Regions from separate parts of the Homo sapiens genome. Here region 2 is linked to region 1. Evidence: promoter capture Hi-C in human tissues and cell types (Jung and others, 2019). All regions are on one chromosome and are shown on one strand. Each heading gives the region's core, a stretch centred on a gene start or on the middle of the fragment in contact. The rest is flanking DNA. Distances are from core to core; before and after follow the strand shown.

Region 1 (6,811 bases), core at 1,814-4,313:
AGGTGCTGCTGCACCCAGCTACTTTATTTTTAATTTTGTATAGTGACAAGGCCTCACTATGTTGCTCAGGTTGGTCTCAAACTTCTGGGCTCAAGCAATCCTTCTGTCTTGGCCTCCCAAAAGTGCTGGGATTATAGGCGTGAGCTACTGTGCCCAGCTACTACTGTTACTAATGCTCATAGCAACTCAGTCATGTATGTATATTATTAACCCCACCAAAATTGAGGAAATGGGGTACAGAGAGATAAAATAACTTGCTCAGGGCTACATCCCTAGCTTGGATTTGAAGCCATGAAGTCAAGCTCCTGAGTCCACATTTCCAGCCTATGGGCTATTGGAAAAGGAGTCAATGAAGAATAGGCTTTGGAGTATGGCAGAAAAAATGCACAGAAGGGAGGGGACTAGAGGAAAGGGAGCTGGTGTTGAAGGAAAGATGGGACTTCCACGTCGGAATGACAGACAGGAATGCTAGGAAAAAGGTCAGGCCTGAGGACAGATTTGGGGAAGATACTCAGAACGCTGAGGGTTAAAGTAATGAAAATGGATCTTAAATGGGGAAAGAACAAGAAAAAAGAGCCCAGGTAGAGAGGCTAAACTAGCAGAGAAAAAAGAAAAGAATCAGAGAAGGAAATAGAGGAATCAATCAGACAGGTGAGATGGACATTTGGACAGCTTAACATCCCCGCTGCACTGGGAGGGGAAGGCCCCAGGCCTGCCTCCTTCTGGGCTTCAAAGCCCAAACCACGCTGAACTCCTTCTGGGATGCCCTTAGTCTTCTCTAAGCACCAATATCAGTCCTGGCCTCCAGTATAAACTCAGAATGCCCCCACTTCTGGGATATTTCCCCTGAACATTTAATCATGTTTCCTAAGATCGATACCACGAACTCCCAGAAGATGGAAATGACAGCTTTCCTCTTTCCATCCCGTGTGCTGCACAGGATCCTGTACATAGGGCTCAATAAATGCTTGTGGAGGCTGTCTTCCGGCCCTTCCACATCTTAGCCCCAAGTGTGACTATATCCTCTATGAAGACAGAGACTGCTTCATGCCCCATTCTCCCCACCCAGCACCAGTGTAGTGGGAAGCATATGCTCAGAACTGCCTCAAATGTGGATCACAGAGTGAGCGGGGTGAATTAAGAGTAGTCTCGGGACAAAAGAGGCACATTCCTCAGCAGCCCCTTGCTAAGCCCAAGACACTGGGAAAAACTTTTGAGGTTCCGGATTCTTCATCGTTTTGGTTGGACCAAAAAGTACCTGGACAAAGTCTGGAAACATGTCTACCATCTCTGAATCCAGAAGCCAACTGATGAAAAAGACAACCTTCACTCACTCTCACCTGAGCAGACAGCAGATCCACAGCCATCCCTTCCTCCTCAGTCTTCCTGCCCAGGGAGAGCAGAGTGTGGACACGGTGGGTCTGCAGAGGAAAAAGGTGTCAAGAGGAACCCTGGCGTCAGGAGATGGCTTGGAGAGAGGAAGTTACAACCGCCCATAATGTCCATCAGGTCTCAAAAAAGCCACCCCCCGTAATGATGTAAAGCAAGAAGAGTGTTTACTAGTTTACTAGGGCAATGTGCCAACCCTACTTCTATTTCTGCACTTGGACTCTTTAACTTCCACCTTCGGGCCTCTCAGCTACCTCTAGGCAAACCGTGACTCCCCCATGGATGTCTGGAGTCCTTCGCTAGCTTTGAACTGCACACCTAAAAGTCGCAATGAATATCCAGTCTCCTGGGGCGCCACTTCCCAGCCTAGCTAGCTGATCCTCATCCTGCCTGCCCTGCCTCACCCTTTCCTCCCTATGGTAGCCACGATAAAGAGGCTTCCCCGCATCCCTACCCTGGTGACAGACCCCACTGCTCGCCCTGAGTGGTCCTTCCGTGGAGTGCTGTGTTCTCCCCAAGAAACTGTGAGCATAATCCAACCACTCAGCTTTCCCAGCCTCTTTACTAGATCTTCGTCGGGCCTTACCACACTTTACCCAAGGTAACAGGATTAAGGCACTGTCCCCACCCAAAGCCAGAGCTTTGCTGTCCCTCCTAATACTCCACAGGTGCCGCCTCTAATGGCACCCACAACCAGAAACAGCCGTCGCTGCCCAAACACCAACCCCAGGTGGGAGAGGTGGAAACCGTGCCCGCCCCACAGAAAGCAAGGGAAGAGGCTGCCTGGGGCAGCCGGGCAAGTGTGAGGGCCTCCAGGCCCGCGATCTGCAGCGGCGACTCAGGGTGCCCCCTAGCATGGAGCCAACCTGGGGCTCTGCCAGGCCAGTTCCAGCGGGTGCCTCGACCAGCCCAGGGGAAGCTGCCACACAAGGCCTCGGTTACGCGACGAAGCGCACCTCCTCCCAGGAAGCGGTGAGTGTTTTCCACGCAGTATTTTCAATCTTCACATTTACAGATGTTACGGAGACTGAAAACCAGGAGGTCGTGACCTGCCCAAAGTCATAAGGGCCGGGAAGGCAATCCTGATCCTAGCCCCAGGCCCCAGTTACATCTGGGGCAATGACCTCGCCACTCTGCCTCGGTCTCCTCCTGACAGAGCGGGAACAGCGTACCGCCACCCTATCTGTTAGCAGGGATGCGCGGAGTTCGTTCGGGCGATGCGCTAGTCTGGTGCCTGGCACCCGAGCGCTCTCGGCGGGCATCAGCTATTGCTTTTATTATTTCCGTTACTCAGAAGAAAATGCACAGAAGAAAATCGCAGAATGAACAACGACAAAAGGCTGGCATCCCCACCCCAGCGGCCCGGCGCACCCAGCTCACCTGGCGAGGCGCTCCCTCCCGCGGGTCTCCGGCAGTCCAGGCCGCTCGCGGACGGCGCCCCGGGACCCAGTGGCCAAGGGGCCCGAGCCGCGTAGGGCTGGTCCCAGAAGCCCAGACGAGGCTGCACGCCGCCCACTCGCTGGAGAGGCCCGGATCCACCCCGGCCCGGAAGAGACCACTGCGAGCGCCTCAACCCCAGGCCGGCAATCCTAGCCAAGCCTGGATGGCCCAAGCCAGGAGAACCCCCGAAAGGCCGCGAGCTGTCCCCGAAACCCCGCCAACCGCGGGAGAACTACCACTCCCGGCATGCCTCCGGCCCCACGCCGACTACACTTCCCAGGGGACGCCGCGGTGCGCGCTGCGAACTCCGGGAGAGGAACCGCCTCCGCCAACGAGAGCTCTCAAAGGCGACAGTGCGCGGAGGGGCTGCAGTGCGAGGGAGTACGCACGCCGCACACGAGGCAGGAGGTCTCCAGCTGCTGGCCGTGCTGCCTACAGCCCGCGCACTTGTTAAGCAAGCGGAGTAGTTTGAAAAAACAAAACCGGAAATTAGATTCATTTAGGAGGATCAGTGTGCTGTAGCTCCCACCGCTGGTTGTGATTACTTTTCTGTTGATACAAAATAATTTACATAATGTATAGGGTCCATGTGAGTGCTTGTTACGTGCATAGACTGTAATGATCATCAAGTCACAGTATTTGGGGTATCCATCACCTTAAGCATTTATCATTTTTATGCGTTGGTATCATTTCAAGCCCTCTCTTCGATTTACTTTGAAATATACACAATATTATTGCCAAGTATAGTCACCCTAGTCTGCTATTAAATATTAGAAATTATTTCTTCCATCTAACTGTATGTTTGTACCCATAACCAACCTCTCTTCATTCCCCTTCCTTTCTGGCCTTCCTGGCCTTTGGTATCTATCCTCCTGTTGTCTATGTCCATGAGATCAAGTGTTTTAACTCCCGAATATAAGTGAGAACATGCAGTACTTGTCTTTCTGTGCCTGGCTTATTTCACTTAACATAATGACCTTCGGCTCCATCCATGTTGCTGTGAATACATTATTTCATTCATTTTTATGGCAGAATAGTATTCCATTGTGTCTATGTATGACATTTTCTTTACCCATTCATCTATTGCTGGTAGGTTGAGTCTATATCTTGGCTACTGCAAATAGTGCAGTGACAAACGTGAGTGCAGGTATCCTTTTCATATACTGATTTCTCTCCCTTTACCAGTAGTAGGGTTGCTGGATTGTATGGTAGTTCCATTTTTAGTTTTTTGAGAAACCTCCACACTGTTTTCCATAGTGGCTGTACTAATTTACATTCCCACCAATAGTGTATAAGAGTTCCCTTTTCCCCAAATCCTCACTGGCATCTGTCATTTTTTTGTCTTTATAATAATAATCATTCTAACTGGAGTGAGCTTATATCTAATTAGAAAGTGTTAGTAACCAAAAGAGCATGATATTTGTATAAAAATAGACACACACACCCCCCCATGGAACAGAATAAGAGAACCCAGAAATCAGTGCACCCATTTACAGCCAACTGATTTTCAACAAAGGTGCCAAGAACACACAATGAGGAAAGGACTACGTCTTTAATAAATGGTTCTGGGGAAAACTGGATAATAATATGCAGAAGAATGAACTTGGACCCCTTCTCTCTCAACATATATAAAAGTCAACTCCAGATAGATTAAAGATTTAAAGACTCCAAACTATAAAACTGATAGAAGGAAACATCGGGACAACTCTTCAGGACATTGATCTAGGCAAAGATTTTTCTTTTTCTTGCCTGTGCTTTTGAGGTCTGTGGCTAAGACCTCAAAAGCACAGGCAACAAAAAGAAAAATAAACAACTATATTAATCTAAAAAGTGTCTGCACAGCAAAAGAAACAACAGAGTGAAGCAACAACTTGAGAGAAAATATTTATAAATTACTCATCCAACAAAGGACTAATACCCAGTATATACAAAGAATTCAAATAACAGGTTTGTGACCAGCCAGGCCAATGTGGCGAAACCCCGTCTCTACTAAAAATGCAAAAATAGCCAGGCGTGGTGGTGCATGCCTGAAACCCCAGCTACTTGGGAGGCTGAAGCAGGAGAATTCCTTGAACCTGGGAGGTGGAGGTTGCAGTGAGCTCAGATCATGCCACTGCACTCCAGCCTGGGTGACAGAGCGAGATGCCATCTCAAAGAAAAAACAAAACAAAAAAAACCACAACAGTATACAAAGAGTCCCATTAAAAATGGGCAAAGGGCTGGGCACAATGACTCATGCCTGTAATCCCGGCACTTTGGGAGGCGGAAGTGGATGGATCACTCGTGCCCAGGGGTTCCAGAGCAGCCTCAGCAACATAGTGAGACCTTGTCTTTACAAAAAATAAACGAAATTAGCCAGGCATGCCAGTGCAGGCCTGTAGTCCCAGCTACTCAGGAGGCTGAGCGCAGAGGATTGCTTGAACCCAGAGGTTGAGGCTGCAGTGAGCAAAAATAGCACCACTGCACTCCAGCCAGGGTGACAGAGTGAGACCCTGCCTCAAAAAAAAAAAAAAAAAAAAAAATAGGCAAAGGACCTGAATAGACATTTCTCAAAAAGACATTCAAATGGCCAACAGGTATATGAAAAATGTTCAACATTACTAATCATCAGAGAAATGCAAATCAAAACCACAAGATAGTTATGTTATTTTAAATTCTTTTAATGTGTACCATACACAGGAGATAATGTATTCATAGGCACAGATTTTTGTTTTTATTTATTTATTTATTTATTTATTTTGAGATGGAGTCTCACTCTGTCGCCAGGCTGGAGTACAGTGGCGCGACCTTGGCTCACTGCAACCTCTACCTCCTAGGTTCAAGCAGTCTCCTGCCTCAGCCTCCTGAGTAGCTGGGACTACAGGCACGTACCACCATGCCCAGCTAATTTTTGTATTTTTAGTAGAGATGGGGTTTCACCATGTTGATCAGGATGGTCTTGATCTCTTGACCTCGTGATCTGCCCACCTCAGCCTCCCAAAGTGCTGGGATTAGAGGCATGAGCCACTGTGCGAGGCCCATGGTTTAATAATAATAAAACAAATACCCACATACCCAACACTTGGGTTACCAAAGAGAAATTTACCCAAAATTTGGAAGCCTTGTTCACAGTGCTCCCAAGTCATTTTCCTGAGTTGCTTTCAGCATTCCTTTGTTTTGTTTGATAATTACTCCACATGCATGTGTCCCTAAACATTGTTTACTTTTGCAACATTTTAAATCTTTATAAAAAGACAACCTGCTATATACATACAATATACAATATGTATGTATATAAAGGTAATCTGCTATATACATACAATATACAATTGTATAGTTTCAATTGTACATTGTATTCAACTTTTATACAATATACAATATGTATGTATATAGCAGATACCCTTTATATAAAGATTTCTGCATATATATGTGTATATGCCTATATGTGTATATATGTATATATATCATGTGTATATACATGCATATATGTATCATGTGTATATATGTGTTCAACACAAACACTTTTAGATTAGTCTACCTTGATACATGCAAAGTTCATTCCTTTTCATTACTGTATAGGATTTCATTATTGATTCATTCAGCAACAACAAAAATTATGTTGAACACTTATCCTGTGCCTAGCATTGTGCCAGATTCTGGAAATACACCAGTGGGCAAAACTGGCAAAACCTGTGCACAAATGCAGCTTGAATTTTACTGGAAGAGAGAGAGGAAAGATAATAAGAGGAATAAATACGTTTTGAGATAGAGATGAGTGTGAAGGCAACCAAAATAATTCACTCCAAAACATACTTCCCTGACATATCTTGAGATGGCTATTCAGAGAGCTTGCAGACAGGAATAGTCCTGAAAAGCTGTCTTTTGTAGAGGAGACTTGCATCTGTTGAGGAAATGAAGTGCAGTCAACAACAGATGTGAATAGGCTTTCTCTGAGGCTCTCCCCTCGTCCAGATCTGAGAAAGACTAACTGAGAGTCTGACAC
Region 2 (6,811 bases), core at 1,974-4,473, 140 kb after region 1:
CTTATTATTATTATTATTATTTTGAGATGGAGTTTTGCTCTTGTCGCCCAGGGTGTAGTGCAATGGCGCAATCTCGGCTTACTGCTACCTCCGCCTCCTGGGTTCAGGTGATTCTCCTGCCTCAGTCTCCCAAGTAGCTGGGACTACAGGGACTACAGGCATGTACCACCATGCCTGGCTAATTTTGTCTTTTTAGTAGAGATGGGGTTTCACCATGTTGGCCAGGCTGATCTTGAACTCCTGACCTCAGGTGATCCACCCACCTTGGCCTCCCAAAGTGCTGGGATTACTGGTGGGAGCCCCTGTGCCTGGCCTGCTTTCTTTTTTCTTCATTTGTCTTTATCATTATTAACTAAAAAGAGAAGCAGAAGGGCACAGTGGTTACGATAACACTAAGATGAAACTTCGGACTTTTGAGTTAATGAACTCAAAATGAACTCTGGAGCTCCACCACTATTAGCTGTGTGACCTTGGGCAGGTTTCTTTTTTTTTTTTTTTTGAGACAGAGTCTCTCTCTGTCATGCAGGCTGGAGTGCAGTGGAGCGATCTCGGCTCACTGCAAGCTCCACCTCCTGGGTTCACGCCATTCTCCTGCCTCAGCCTCCCGAGTAGCTGGGACTATAGGTGCCCGCCACCATGCCCGGCTAATTTTTTGTGGTTTTAGTACAGACGGGGTTTCACCGTGTTAGCCAAGATGGTCTCGATCTCCTGACCTCGTGATCCGCCCGCCTCGGCCTCAAAAAGTGCTGGGATTACAGGCATGAGCCACCACACCTTGCGTAGGTTTCTTAACCTCTCTGTGCTCTATTGTCCAAATTTGTTAAATGGTACCTATCTTATAGTGCTGATATAAGAACAAAAGTTAGTTAATAAAGGGCTTAGAAGAGTATGTAGGTTTTTGTTGAACAGTCAGATTTTACACATTCTTCTGTGTATGTATTTCAAAAATCAAATTACAAAAAGAACAAAGTATTTGCTATTCTGGAAAATATTAATCATTTTAAGTTCAAACATATTTTTGTACTACAGAAAACTTAATAGTAGGATTCAGTATACCTTCATGGAATTTAGACTTAAAAGTTAGTTCTGAGGAGTTGATGCTTACGAAAGAAAAAAAAAAAAAGATTACCTACAAATTTTTAAAAAACTGGCAGAAGAGATTTTCTCAGGAACACAGGATGCCGAAAGACAATGGGGCCATGCCTGCAAGAACTGATGTGACTCAAGAACTCCACATGGTCAGCACTCCACACATGTGCAGAGAAAGGCAAAACACAGTCTTAAATATGAAGATTCAGTAATAACAGTACTCCTAAACCATTTCTGCTATTATTTAAATATTCAATTTGAATAAAAAATAAACATGAATGGGGAAGTTAGTTTGGGTATAAAAAGACTGGCAGTGACATGCTGAATCCACTTCAAGGATGAACCTCGAAGATATTATGCTAAGTGAAATAAGCCAGTCACGAAAAGACAAATATTGCATGATTCAACTCATATGAGGTATCTAGAGTAGTCAAATTCATAGAGGCAGAAAGCGGAGGTTACCAGGGGCTGGCGGAAGCGGGGAATGGGATGCTATTGCTTAAAGGATATAGAGTTTTCATTAGGAAAGATGAAAAAGTTCTGGAGACGGATGGCGGTGCTGGTTCCACAACAATGTGAATGTATTTAAATGCCTCCAAATGATACACTAAAAATGGCTAAAATGGCAAATTTTATGTTACGTATATTGTACACATATACACACAAACACAAAACATTACAATTAAAAAAAGACACCTAAAGAATTACATTTCAACTATCTGGGAAATCCTCATGTTTGAAAATTAAGCAGTGAATTTGTAAATTCTGAGAGGTCAAAGAGGAAATCACAATGGAATGAGATAATATTTTATGTGTTACAACCAAAGCAATGCTTAGAGGAAATTATATAGCTTTCAATATTTTTTTTTCTATTATAAATACTTTATTTCAACTAGAAGGTACAATCTCTCAGGGGTTTCATAGTTTAAAAAGCTACAATCACATCATGTTGTAACTACATAAAAAACAGTGCTGTAAATGGAACTGCTTGGCTTTGACCACACACATTTCTGCACAGCCCTTACAGAATCTGCACAAAGAAATATCTCCCTTTGCTCCAGTTAATTGTTCTTGTATGTAAGTTGCTTTCTATTCCAGTATATCCAGAGTGGTGAAATAACAAGGCCAGCCACGTGGACAAAGGTCGCTCCAAGCGTACAGGAGATGGGCCATACCTGCCATGCTCTTGCCCTGTCAAGGAATAGGACGTGCTCCAAGCCATGCTCCTACAAAACTAGACATTGCAGTGATCTGGAGACTATTCTCCCATATGGATGTAACTCCATTTCTACTGAAAACTCTTAGCCATGCTTTGAGGTTTGGTCCTAACAAACATAAGTAAGGCACAATAGTAAAAGTAGACAAAATAACTGCAAATAAAAATGTTTCCAATGCCAACTCTATTAGTGGTGCTCCATATAGAACAAAAATTACATGAAAGGAGAAACAAGACATAAGAAAGTAGATACAGCATTTCAAAAATCTGGTTACCTTGTATGATAATGAACTTATTTTAGAGGATGTATTTGGTTTCACTACTAAATATAGTACTAGACTGACAGCAGTTACAAAACCAGAACAGACGCACAACCATGTCAAGTGTGTTTCCAATATTGAGGAGTTCTCCAAGAAGAGTGATGGAATGAAGACACTTAGGATAATTGAAAATATGCATAAAAGATGGGTATACAGTAGTCTCTTGATATCGGTATCTTTCATGATGTTTTCTTGGGTGGCTAGCTGACTCTCCTGCCTGCGGAAGGAGCTTTAAATGTTTTTACAGTAAATAAGAATGGCCCATAATCTGTGACCTATGTTTCCACCTTAAGAAGTTAGACAAAGATCAAATTAAAACCAAAGTAGAGGATCCTCTTCCTGATAAGGTGGAGTAGGCCTATTCCACCATGTCTCTTCCACTGATAAACCCGAACAGAAAGCATGAAGCAATTATTTGAAGGCCCTGAGAAGTAAACAGTAGCAGGTGAATTGGGGAAGAGAACCAAAATCCAAAGTACCACTGAACCAGTGGTGAGCTTCCTTTTTTTCCTCAGCTGTCTTCTGTACTAAACTTATACAGCCATCTGAAAACAGGCACTGAGGCAGGAGAAGGCAGAGGAGGTTCTCCAGGAAAAGCTCTAGGGCCGGTTCATGGAGCAGGAAAAGGACTTCTAATGCTTAGAGAGAGCAGGGGGAATTGCCTATTTTTTCCCCTTTCTCTGTTCTATTGCACCCCAGCACTTAAGCAATCCTCTGGTGGCTGCTGCAACAGCAGTGCCACTGCAAGCTGACAGGAGCTCAAAAACATGAGGAGAGGGTCCTTCTTCCCCAAGCAAGGGATCTGTGGTCCCAAGAAGGGTAGCAAGAAGCCCCACTTCATCATCTTTTCTTTGTCCTCCTGCTGCTTGGCTCTACATAGGGATGGTCACTGGAAGTCACAGCAGAGCGGGGCAACTACAGGCCCCTGCCTTGTAGCCAGAAGAGTCAAAAGGACAGCCACAGGGAAGCTGAAACTACTGCGGACATAGACAGGGGAGAATTCGGGAACATGACCTTGGAAGTTATTTAAGAACTCCTGGGCTCACCTGCGAGATACATATGCATGAATCTGACCCCCTAAGCAGCACACGTGGACTTTGAGAATAAGAGGGACCGCTGCTTAAATTCCATACTGGCCACAGAGTGACACACATGTGAGCAAGATTCAAGCAACAATGTGAAGTCTCTGACAACCAAACTGACACAGAAACCACAACCCACAGAAAGCTGGTTGGACTTTGTAGTCTGAGCTCAACCAGGTTGACTGCCTGCTAACACAGAAATATCAACATTTTCTGTTGGATTTCAAGAAGACATAGAGTTTTATAACATAATATTCTAAATGCCCATGATACCTTTTGAAGTCACTGAGAATATAAAGACCCAGGAACATTTCAACTTACATGGGAAAAGATAACCAACAGACATCAAGTGAGATGATACAATTATCTTACAAGGACTTTAAAGCATCTGCCTTACTTGTTCCAACAAGTCAGAGTGAACACACTCTAAAGAAATGGAAATAAAATCTCAGCAAAGAAAATGAGCATATAAAAAGAACTAAGTGGAAATTCTGGAAGTGAAAAATATACAATTTTTTTTTTTTTTTTGAGACGAAGTCTCACTCTGTTGCCCAAGCTGGAGTGCAGTGGCGCGATCTCGACTCACTGCAACCTCTACCTCCCGGGTTCAAGCGATTCTCCTGCCTCAGCCTCCTGAGTAGCTGGGACTACAGGTACACGCCACCATGCCCGGCTAATTTTTGTATTTTTAGGAAAGACGGGGTTTCACTATGTTGGCCAGGCTGGTCTTGAAATCCTAACCTCGTGACCCACCAGCCTTGGCCTCTCAAAGTGCTGGGATTACAGGTGTGAGCCACCACACCTAGCCCTACAGTATTTTTAATATATAAACACTTATTTATTGATATAGAAAATAGAAATCTTGCTAAATAGGTCCAACAGCAGAAGGGTGAAAAAAGGAAAGAATTAACTTGAAGACAGATTAAAAGAAATTATTCAATCTGAACAACACAGAGAGAAAAGATTGAGAAAAAATAAAGATGAAGAGCACCTCAGGGATGTATGGGACAACAACAAAAGATCTCATATATGTCTCACTGGAGTCCCAGAGAAGGAGAAAATGTTTGGTGCTGAAAAAGTATTTGAAGAAATCATGGTTAAAAGCTTATATTTGACAGAAGATTTCAACCTATAGGAACAGGGTAAACCCAAAGAAATCCACGCCCAGATGCATCATAATCAAATTTTTTTTTTTTTCTTTTGAGACAGAGTCCACTCTGTCGCCCAGGCTGAAGTGCAGTGGTACAACCTTGGCTCACTGCAACCTTCACCTCCTGGGTTCAAGCGATTCCCGTGCCTCCTCAGCCTCCCAAGTAGCTGGGACTACAGGCATGCACTACCACACCCAGGTAGTTTTGTATTTTTTGCAGAGAAAGGGTTTCGCCATGTTTTGCCCAGGCCAGTCTCAAACTCCTGGCCTCAAGTGATCCACCTGCCTTCACCTCCCAAAGTGCTGAGATTACAGGTGTGAACCACTATGCCCAGCCATAATTAAATTCTAAAAATGGAAGTAAAAAACAATCTTGAAAGCAACCAGGGAAAATTGATACACTACTTGGTGGCAGGGCAAAAATGTGAATAACTGAATTTCTCATCAGAAACCATGGATGCCAGAAGGAAGTGGATTAATTATTTCAAAGTGCTGAAAGAAATAACCATAAACCTAGAGTTCTATATTAGCAAAAATCTTTCAGGAATGAAGGTGAAATAAAGACATTCTCATATGAAAGAAAACTAAGAGAATTTGTCACCAGCAGACCCACCCTGTTAAGTCATTGTAATATCAGAGCCAGAACTCTTAATGTTTTTAAACAATGCTGGTTACTTAGACATCAAGAGTATAACTAGCACGAAGAAGGATTTATCCAGGAAATAAAGAATGGTTCACTATTAAGAATCTATTACTATCATATTAATAGGTCATAGGTCATATGATCAACCTGATAGATGGTTCAGAAGTATTCAACTGGTATCCTTCATCCATTCGTGTTCAAAAACAAAAATATTAGCATTGCACCAAGAATACAAATAAAGCCCTAGAAGAATTCTCTCTAATAACAGAACCAAGGAAAAGGTGCTTACTATTACTACTACTATTTAATGTTATTCCAGAAGTGTGACCAATATGGCCACTGAGATGGGGGGAAATTTTTAATTTTTCCCAGATTATATAACTGTCTACCTACAAAATGAAAAACGGTTAGGGGGGCTTTACTCAGAATTGATGGAGTATTGTGGGCTTGGAGCCTGAGCAGTATAGGTCAGAAACTGTAGCTCTTCCAGGATTAAACAATGTTTCAGATCCTTGACATTTTACTATCTCATTAAATAAGGACTTTATAAAGCACAAAGCATTATGCTTGGATGTAATAAGGATCCAGTGATTATTAGCTGTTATCATTACCATCATTACTATTTTACATTAAGCAACATACAGTTCTCTCTGCCTTTCCTTTTTTCCTAAACAAGACTTTTGAGTAATAATACTGGAAATACTCAATACTCCCTTAACGGCTTGGAATGCTTTTTCTGCCTTCACTCGTTAACTTATAGGATTTATATAACTCTGATACTCACCAGGACATGAACTAGAGTCTCCAGACCAAGGTGTCTGGTCTGTCACAGACCCCTTAGTACACACGGCTGGCACAAGCCATAGCAGAGGCTGGGAGCTTGCACAGTATGGGTGTGTGGGATGGGACTGGGCAGCAAGCAGGTCCCATGCTTCTTGAAAAGGGCAAGTTGATTTATTTATTTTCTCCTTTTATATTTCTTCCATCCTCTGGGTAACAGTTAGCTACTCCTAACACCCAACTAGACTATTTCTATACCCACCTGTCTGGATTTTCTATTTAAACTCTTGCTACCCTACAATGCATTCTCTCCATATAGCAGTCAAACTGGTTTTATGAACACGATAAATCATTCATTCAATAAATACTTATCAAGCCAGGTACTGTTCTGGGTGCTCAGGATATAGCAATAAACAGAAAAAATGTCTGCCCTTATGAAACATATTTTAGCAAGAGAAAGGGAGACAATAAGTAAGTGGTATACCTTACAGAAAAACAATAAAAGCATTTAAATGGATATAGGGAACATGA

Evidence for each region. Contacts are between HindIII fragments. The study calls those that stand out against the background at their distance.
Region 2: a contact is called between a fragment that was not itself captured here and the fragment with the promoter of ZNF354C in region 1, in 2 of the 25 tissues and cell types used here (H1 embryonic stem cells and dorsolateral prefrontal cortex).

What each region holds. Positions count from the first base shown.
Region 1 is chr5:179,056,625-179,063,435 of GRCh38, reverse strand. ZNF354C (zinc finger protein 354C) reads right to left here and starts at 3,063. Exons shown (of 5, transcript NM_014594.3): 1 at 2,770-3,063; 2 at 1,341-1,421. The coding sequence starts at 1,367. RefSeq lists an enhancer at 2,209-2,744. The HindIII fragment of the contact is 19,620 bases long and covers 1-6,811 here.
Region 2 is chr5:178,918,061-178,924,871 of GRCh38, reverse strand. All of the region lies in intron 4 of ZFP2 (ZFP2 zinc finger protein), which reads right to left. It also overlaps the pseudogene PIGFP1. Among named protein-coding and RNA genes, the nearest start is that of ZNF454-DT, 20 kb to the left of the region's middle. The HindIII fragment of the contact is 5,302 bases long and covers 573-5,874 here.